2 separate regions of the Homo sapiens genome follow, and region 2 is linked to region 1. The links are contacts of gene promoters, found by promoter capture Hi-C in blood cells and fetal thymus (Javierre and others, 2016). All regions are on one chromosome and are shown on one strand. Each heading gives the region's core, a stretch centred on a gene start or on the middle of the fragment in contact. The rest is flanking DNA. Distances are from core to core; before and after follow the strand shown. Region 1 holds the start of C2orf81 (chromosome 2 open reading frame 81). Region 2 overlaps DGUOK (deoxyguanosine kinase).

Region 1 (3,276 bases), core at 135-2,634:
TTTTCTATTTTGTAAGTTCTCTACAATGAGTTTGTTTCCTTTTGTAATCACTTAAAAAAAAAAAAAGACTAGTCCCCAAAACTCACTTTAGAGACATAAAAAGTTTACAAACAATCTCTTGGGAGCTCCCTCAATTCCCCACAACAGTCTCCCTGAACCTGGTTCCTTCCAAAATGTACTTCCAAATGTGATCTTCCCAAACCTTTGCCTATTGCCCCGCTAAAACCTTGTCTCATATCTGTTTCCTAAAATTCATTATCCCCCCAAATCTGCTGTTTCCTAAGTCTTGCAGAACTCAAAATCCCTGAAGTCTCATTAACCCTATCCACCAGTGAGAACAGCCCTGTAGCAAGCACCAGGAGTGGCCCATAGCCCAGGCCAAGCTTGACTAGAGCAGGGCTGACTGGACTGAGTAAAGAGAGTTGTTTCCTTAGACCTCCCCTCCCAGCCTCGCATCTGACACCCGTGATGGTGACCAGAAGGGACAGAGATATTTTTGCACAAAGGCTCTTCAAATCCGTTTTCTTTCTTCTTCTTCTTTTTTTTTTTTTTTTTTTTTTTTTTTTGAGACAGTCTCTCTCTGTCACCCAGGCTAGAGCGCAGTGGCGCGATCTCGGCTCACTGCAACCTCCGCCTCCCGAGTTCAAGCAATTCTCCTGCCTCTGCCTCCCGAGTAGCTGGGATTACAGGCACCGCGCCACCACATCCAGCTAATTTTTTGTATTTTAGTCGAGACGGGGTCTCGCCATGTTGGCCTGGCTGGTCTTGAACTCCTGAGCTCAGGCAATCCTCCCGCCTCAGCCTCTCAAAGTGCTGGGATTACAGGCATGAGCCATTGAGACCGGCCCCGTTTTCTTTATTTTAAAATTGATTGGCTCTTAAACAATTTGACTTTCAAGTGCAGTCTCTGAATTATTTAATATATTTCTTCCTCTTGAAATTCTCGAAATAGATTTTTTCTGTTATCTTCCCTCTCTAAATGCTCATCCATTTAAATACGCACCACCATGTAAGAGACTTACTACATTCATTAGCTGTTTCAAAATCCACTTCCTGTTCTCGGGCTCTACACCACCCACTGACCCTTTCCCTCATGGCTTGAGTGTAACAAAGCGTTTGAGTGGGCACCGTGCAGGTGTAGGTTTTCTGCCCGAGTACCGACGTGGCTTCCTTGGTCATCTAAACTCCCGCGCGGTGGGCGGGAGCAAGTAGGGGCACTGGGCGGCCCAGAGCCAGCCCACTGTTCCCGACACCGACCTTAACGGCCGACCCTGGCTCTGGCGCATCCCCAGCTGAACTGAAGCTCACCGAGCCTTCGTGCGCCATCGCCAACGCGGTCGCAGCAACGCTGGTGTTTCTGCTGCATCCGGGCCGCGTAAGCCACCTAACAGTCGCCTGGGCAACCACGGGCTCGGGGTCGCTCGCCCCGCCCACAGTTGCCCCGGCAACCGCGCCGCCCGCGGCACGTTCCGGCCGCTCACCCCGCCCAAGGGCCGTGCGTACGTGCGTCGTCTCTATGGTGGCGGCGGATTTGGAGGGACCCTACGAACCAGGAGTCAGGCGAGCCGATCTGGGGCTGCAGGTGTTACCTCTGATCTAGGCCGGGGGCTTCAGGGATCCGAGCCGAGGGAGAAAGCCTTGGGGGCTTCATCACACTTATTTGGCTCGCGGGCTTGGGGCCATCGGGTGGTCCTGTGTCATCCCCATTCCTCCTCTGCGATTCCCCCGTCGCCCCAAAACAGCCCTGGGACTCCCCTGTCTTGCTCCTCGAGACCCTCCCCCATCACCGTCCTCTGGGCACCCCATCCTATGACCCAGTCTCAGGCATCTTCCGAAATGCTCGATGATAGCCGCCCTCGGGCATCTCCGCTGCGTCTGTTTGTAGCGCGCCTGGTGATTCGGCTGCACCCCCACACAGGATGTTCCGCTGGGAGCGCTCCATTCCCCTGCGAGGCTCGGCCGCCGCCCTGTGCAACAACCTCAGTGTGCTGCAGCTGCCGGCTCGCAACCTCACGTATTTTGGCGTGGTTCATGGACCAAGCGCCCAGCTTCTCAGCGCTGCTCCTGAGGGTGTGCCCTTGGCCCAGCGCCAGCTCCACGCTAAGGAGGGTGCTGGAGTGAGTCCCCCACTTATCACTCAGGTGAGGCATGGAGCTGGGAGTGATGTTGCTGAACCCAGTCCTACCCCCAGCCTTTTCTCTCCAAACCTTCAGGAGCAGGCATGTCCTAACCTCAGAATCTCCCCAGGCATGTCCTAACCTCAGAATCTCCCCTCTCCTGCCGGGCGCGGTGGCTCACGCCTGTAATCCCAACACTTTGGGAGGCTGAGACGGGCACTTGAGGCCAGGAGTTCGAGACCAGCCTGGCCAACATGGTGAAACCTCTTCTCTACTAAGAATACAAAAAAAATTAACCGGGTGTGGTGGCGTGCACCTGTAATCCCAGCTACTTGGGTGGCTGAGGCAGGAGAATCGCTTGAACCCAGGAGGCTGAGGTTGCAGTGAGCCGAGATGGCGCCACTGCACTCCAGCCTGGGCCACAGAGCAAGACTCCGTCCCCCAAAAAAAAAAAAAAAACAAACAAACTCATCTTCCCTGCTTTGATTTTCTCCCTACACTGATGCACCTCCCTCCAGGTCCACTGGTGTGTCCTCCCCTTCCGAGTGCTGCTGGTACTCACCTCACATCGAGGAATACAGGTAAGAAGAGGACTCTCCTGCTTGCCCCACCAGAGCCTTCTCAGCTTCCCTGCCAGGCTTCCAGACTTTCCCACTTGCCTCTAAACACTTCCAGACTTTTCACATGCTTGGCCCACTCACTCTTTTTCTATTTCTTATCTTCAATCTTTCCATCTTTTCCAGTTTCCAAGTGCCACCTCCAGTATCTGCCCCTTTACTAGCTGTATGTCCTTACACTATTAACTTCTCACTCTCACTGTTGTCCTCTGAAAAAATTAGGATAAAAATAGTACCTACATCCCAGATTTGTTTTGAGGATTAAATGGGCTAAGGCTAACACGGATATGTGAAGTACTCAGCAGAGGTCAGTTGGGTTATGCCCCCTGGTTCTTGCCCCGGTCTTCCAGATGTACGAGTCCAATGGCTACACCATGGTCTACTGGCATGCACTGGACTCTGGAGATGCCTCCCCAGGTACCTGCAGGACCAAGTGGGGTGGGGGCAGGGAGTGTTTGCTAGGGCTGCAGGAGGGGATATTTCTGATCATTCTCCCCTTTCATATTCAGTACAGGCTGTGTTTGCCCGGGGAATTGCTGCCA
Region 2 (2,925 bases), core at 409-2,908, 490 kb before region 1:
TGACCAGATTAATTTAAAAAAGGAAATTGTGTAGGATGAGAAAGAAAGCTCCATAAAACAGGCACTTTCTTTGTATATTTTGTTTGCTGCAGTACCCATAGTGCCTTGCATCCAGTTTGTTGGATGAATGAATAGATGAATTGGAACAGAGTTGAGTCTGTGCACTAGTTTTGTGGCTATTGGAGTAATTGGAGGGAGGAAAGATGCAGGCCTGAATAGAAGAACTGAAATGACAGAGAAGTGACGGTTTCAGAGAGATTTTGGAAGCGGGATTGACAGGATGTGGTGGCCACTTGGAGGTGAGGTAGGAGGAGGAGTAGAGGAGGGTGACACTGAGGTTCATGAGGATGGGAATAAAGGAAGAGGCGGTCTGGGGAGGTTAGAGTGATATGTTTTGTATGAGGTGCCTGTGAGACATAGAGGTGTTCTGAGACAGATTGGAATATGTGCCTGAGGTCAAGAGAGTCCGGAGATGGGTGCTGAGATTTCAGATGTGGAAGTTGTTGACTGGTGGGTAGAGGGGTAGTTGGTGAAGCCTTGGAAGTAAATGCAATTGCCCAAGAAAAGGGTGATGCGAAGTGGAATGGGAGGACCTAATCTGACTCTTTTTACTTTCATCTCCCACTACTCTTCATCACCCCACACACCCTGATGACTCTCCCTAGACAGAATTAGTCACTGCCTCCTCTGTGGGCTGACATAACATTTTGTACCCACAACTGCTGCAGCACTTGAGTTCTGCTGAGCTTGTTTGCACATTCACCACCTTCCTTGGGCTCTGACCACTCAGTGTGCTGTTCATCTTTGTATTGCTGACACCTAACCCCCGCCTTGACCCAGTGTACTCAGTACTGACCAGATTCTTGAATCCTGTGCTATGATATCCATGTGGAAGTTAGGCATTGGTACCCACACAGGGAATGTATTAAACTGCTTTTTAAATCAAGAGTGATCATCTTCTCTAATCACAGGTAACATCCTCAAGCAAATCAGAATGAGAGCACCCATTCAGGAAACCTGAACAGGGAAGGTGAACCCCTGTCCTGACCAAAATTGGGTATGTTTAGAGGGCTTTTCTTGTATTCCTTCTGCTCTAAGTCCTATTATTCTGATCCTGAAGGTGCAGACAGCGGCATGTAAGGAAAATTGATCAGTGAAGTAGCAACTAATGGCATCTAGCATGACTTACGAAGCCATATAAGATGTGTGATTGAAAGTCAAAAGCTTGGTACCTAGAACCCCTGAAAATCTAAAAAATAAAACACCTAGCCTGTCTTTTAAGACTGTTCATCCCTACAGTGTATTATCATCTTCTTGTGATTATCTTACGATTACAAGCGTAAATTGAAGAAAAGATTGCTGTATGAAATCTCACTGTCAGTGAGTCATCTCAGCATTTTTACCTTATTTTCAAAGACCCAACCAGAAAAGAGGAAACTCTTTTGCACTTTTCAATCAAGAAACTTAAACATAAAGCAGTAGAGGGCTTCCCTAATAACATGTTTCCTCCAGCATTCAAAATTAGTGACTTCACATCACTAATATGTGTCTTACTTATTTTAAGTATAAATGATTGGGCAAAGAATCCTTGGGAAAAAATAGCCTATTTATTTCAAATACTGTATAGTGGATTCTCTGTGCCTGTGACTCACCTCCTTCCCTCCATCACTGTTCTCATACTCAGGATGCAAAGGTTCAGTCTCTGTCTTCAAAAGTGAGCTCCCAGTCTAGCTGGAGGGAGTGATGAGTGAACAAATAATTACAGCGTAATCCTTTGGTAAACCAGAGCAGGCAGTAATTAACTCTGCCTAGAGATGAAGTGGCGCTGGAGAGAGTTCAAGGAGGCTTCACAGAGAAGGTGGCAGTGGAAAGCTGAATCACCTGGTAGGCAAGGCGGGAGGAGGGGATGTCAGATCAGTGAGGGTCTTTTGTGCTGAGCAGATGAGTTTGGATCATAGGAAGGTGTGAGAAAATTTTTTGCCTTTTTTTTTTCGTAAACAGTTTTTCATGAAAAAAGGTCATCAAAGTAAAATGTATTAAGTTTTTTTTAAGCCTGCTGACTGATTTTTATTAACTTTGCCTAGAATGCCTTTAAGCTTGGAGCCTGTATGATCCTGGGTACTCAGTCTTGGGGTTGGAATATAACTTGAGGGCAAGCTCTCAGCCTAGATCATCATTTCAGTTATAGTACTTACCTCTGAGTAGCTACTCCATAAACATTTGTTGATTGAATGAGTGAGTGAATGAATGCAGCATCAAATACAGTATCTGAAATAAAGACTTCAATTTTTTTTGGAAGGACTTTTTAAAAAAGACATTAGACAGTTTTATATGTTCTGACTTTGTTGGATTTTGGTAAAAGATTTCAGAATTGGATTTTTTTTCTCATGTTTTTCATCTTGTTCAGGAGATGAAAATGCCTAGAGGTGATAAATATAGGCTCCTATGAAATACAGCTGTATTAGACGTAAAATAATGGGATCTGTTATTTTGGGTATTACATCATATGCTATCTTGCTGCTAGATTTTAGCATTACATAGCTATGGTAGGCATTGTCAGTTTATAGAAAATTTTGTGGGGAGAAAAAAACATGCCTTAGAAAAAGATGAGTGGTAACAACAGAACTCTTTGTCCCAGCTTGTGGAATGAGAATAGTGGAGCTAATGAAAATCAACATGTTGAAGTAATATACTCTTAAGAAAGTACCTTCCACCTTTTTTTAAGGTTGTGGCAATATAACAACAGAGAACACTGGTGGCCAGGGTCCTAAGGGAAGGTTTGATGCTGCTTGTAAGTTCTGATACCTTCCAAAATTCATAATACTGAGAGTATATTGAAAGACAGGCCGGGCGATGTGGCTAACCCCTGTCATCCCAGCACTTTGGGAGGCTGAGGCGGGCAGATCACCTGAGGTCAGGAGTTCA

Evidence for each region. The method cuts DNA at HindIII sites, captures the fragments that hold promoters and counts their contacts. A CHiCAGO score of 5 or more calls a contact.
Region 2: a contact is called between a fragment that was not itself captured here and the fragment with the promoter of C2orf81 in region 1, in 1 of 17 cell types (total B cells). The highest score is 5.2, in total B cells.

Annotation. Positions count from the first base shown.
Region 1 is chr2:74,420,235-74,423,510 of GRCh38, forward strand. It overlaps C2orf81 (chromosome 2 open reading frame 81), which reads right to left and starts at 1,385. Exons shown (of 3, transcript NM_001316764.3): 1 at 1,309-1,385. The coding sequence starts at 1,326. WDR54 (WD repeat domain 54) reads left to right here and starts at 1,496. Exons shown (of 10, transcript NM_032118.4): 1 at 1,496-1,582; 2 at 1,919-2,141; 3 at 2,636-2,698; 4 at 3,085-3,151; 5 at 3,244-3,276. The coding sequence starts at 1,920. RefSeq lists a silencer at 1,316-1,595 and an enhancer at 1,996-2,175. The HindIII fragment of the contact is 12,224 bases long and covers 382-3,276 here.
Region 2 is chr2:73,931,627-73,934,551 of GRCh38, forward strand. The region is part of intron 1 of DGUOK (deoxyguanosine kinase); the gene reads left to right. Among named protein-coding and RNA genes, the nearest start is that of DGUOK, 6.2 kb to the left of the region's middle. The HindIII fragment of the contact is 872 bases long and covers 1,223-2,094 here.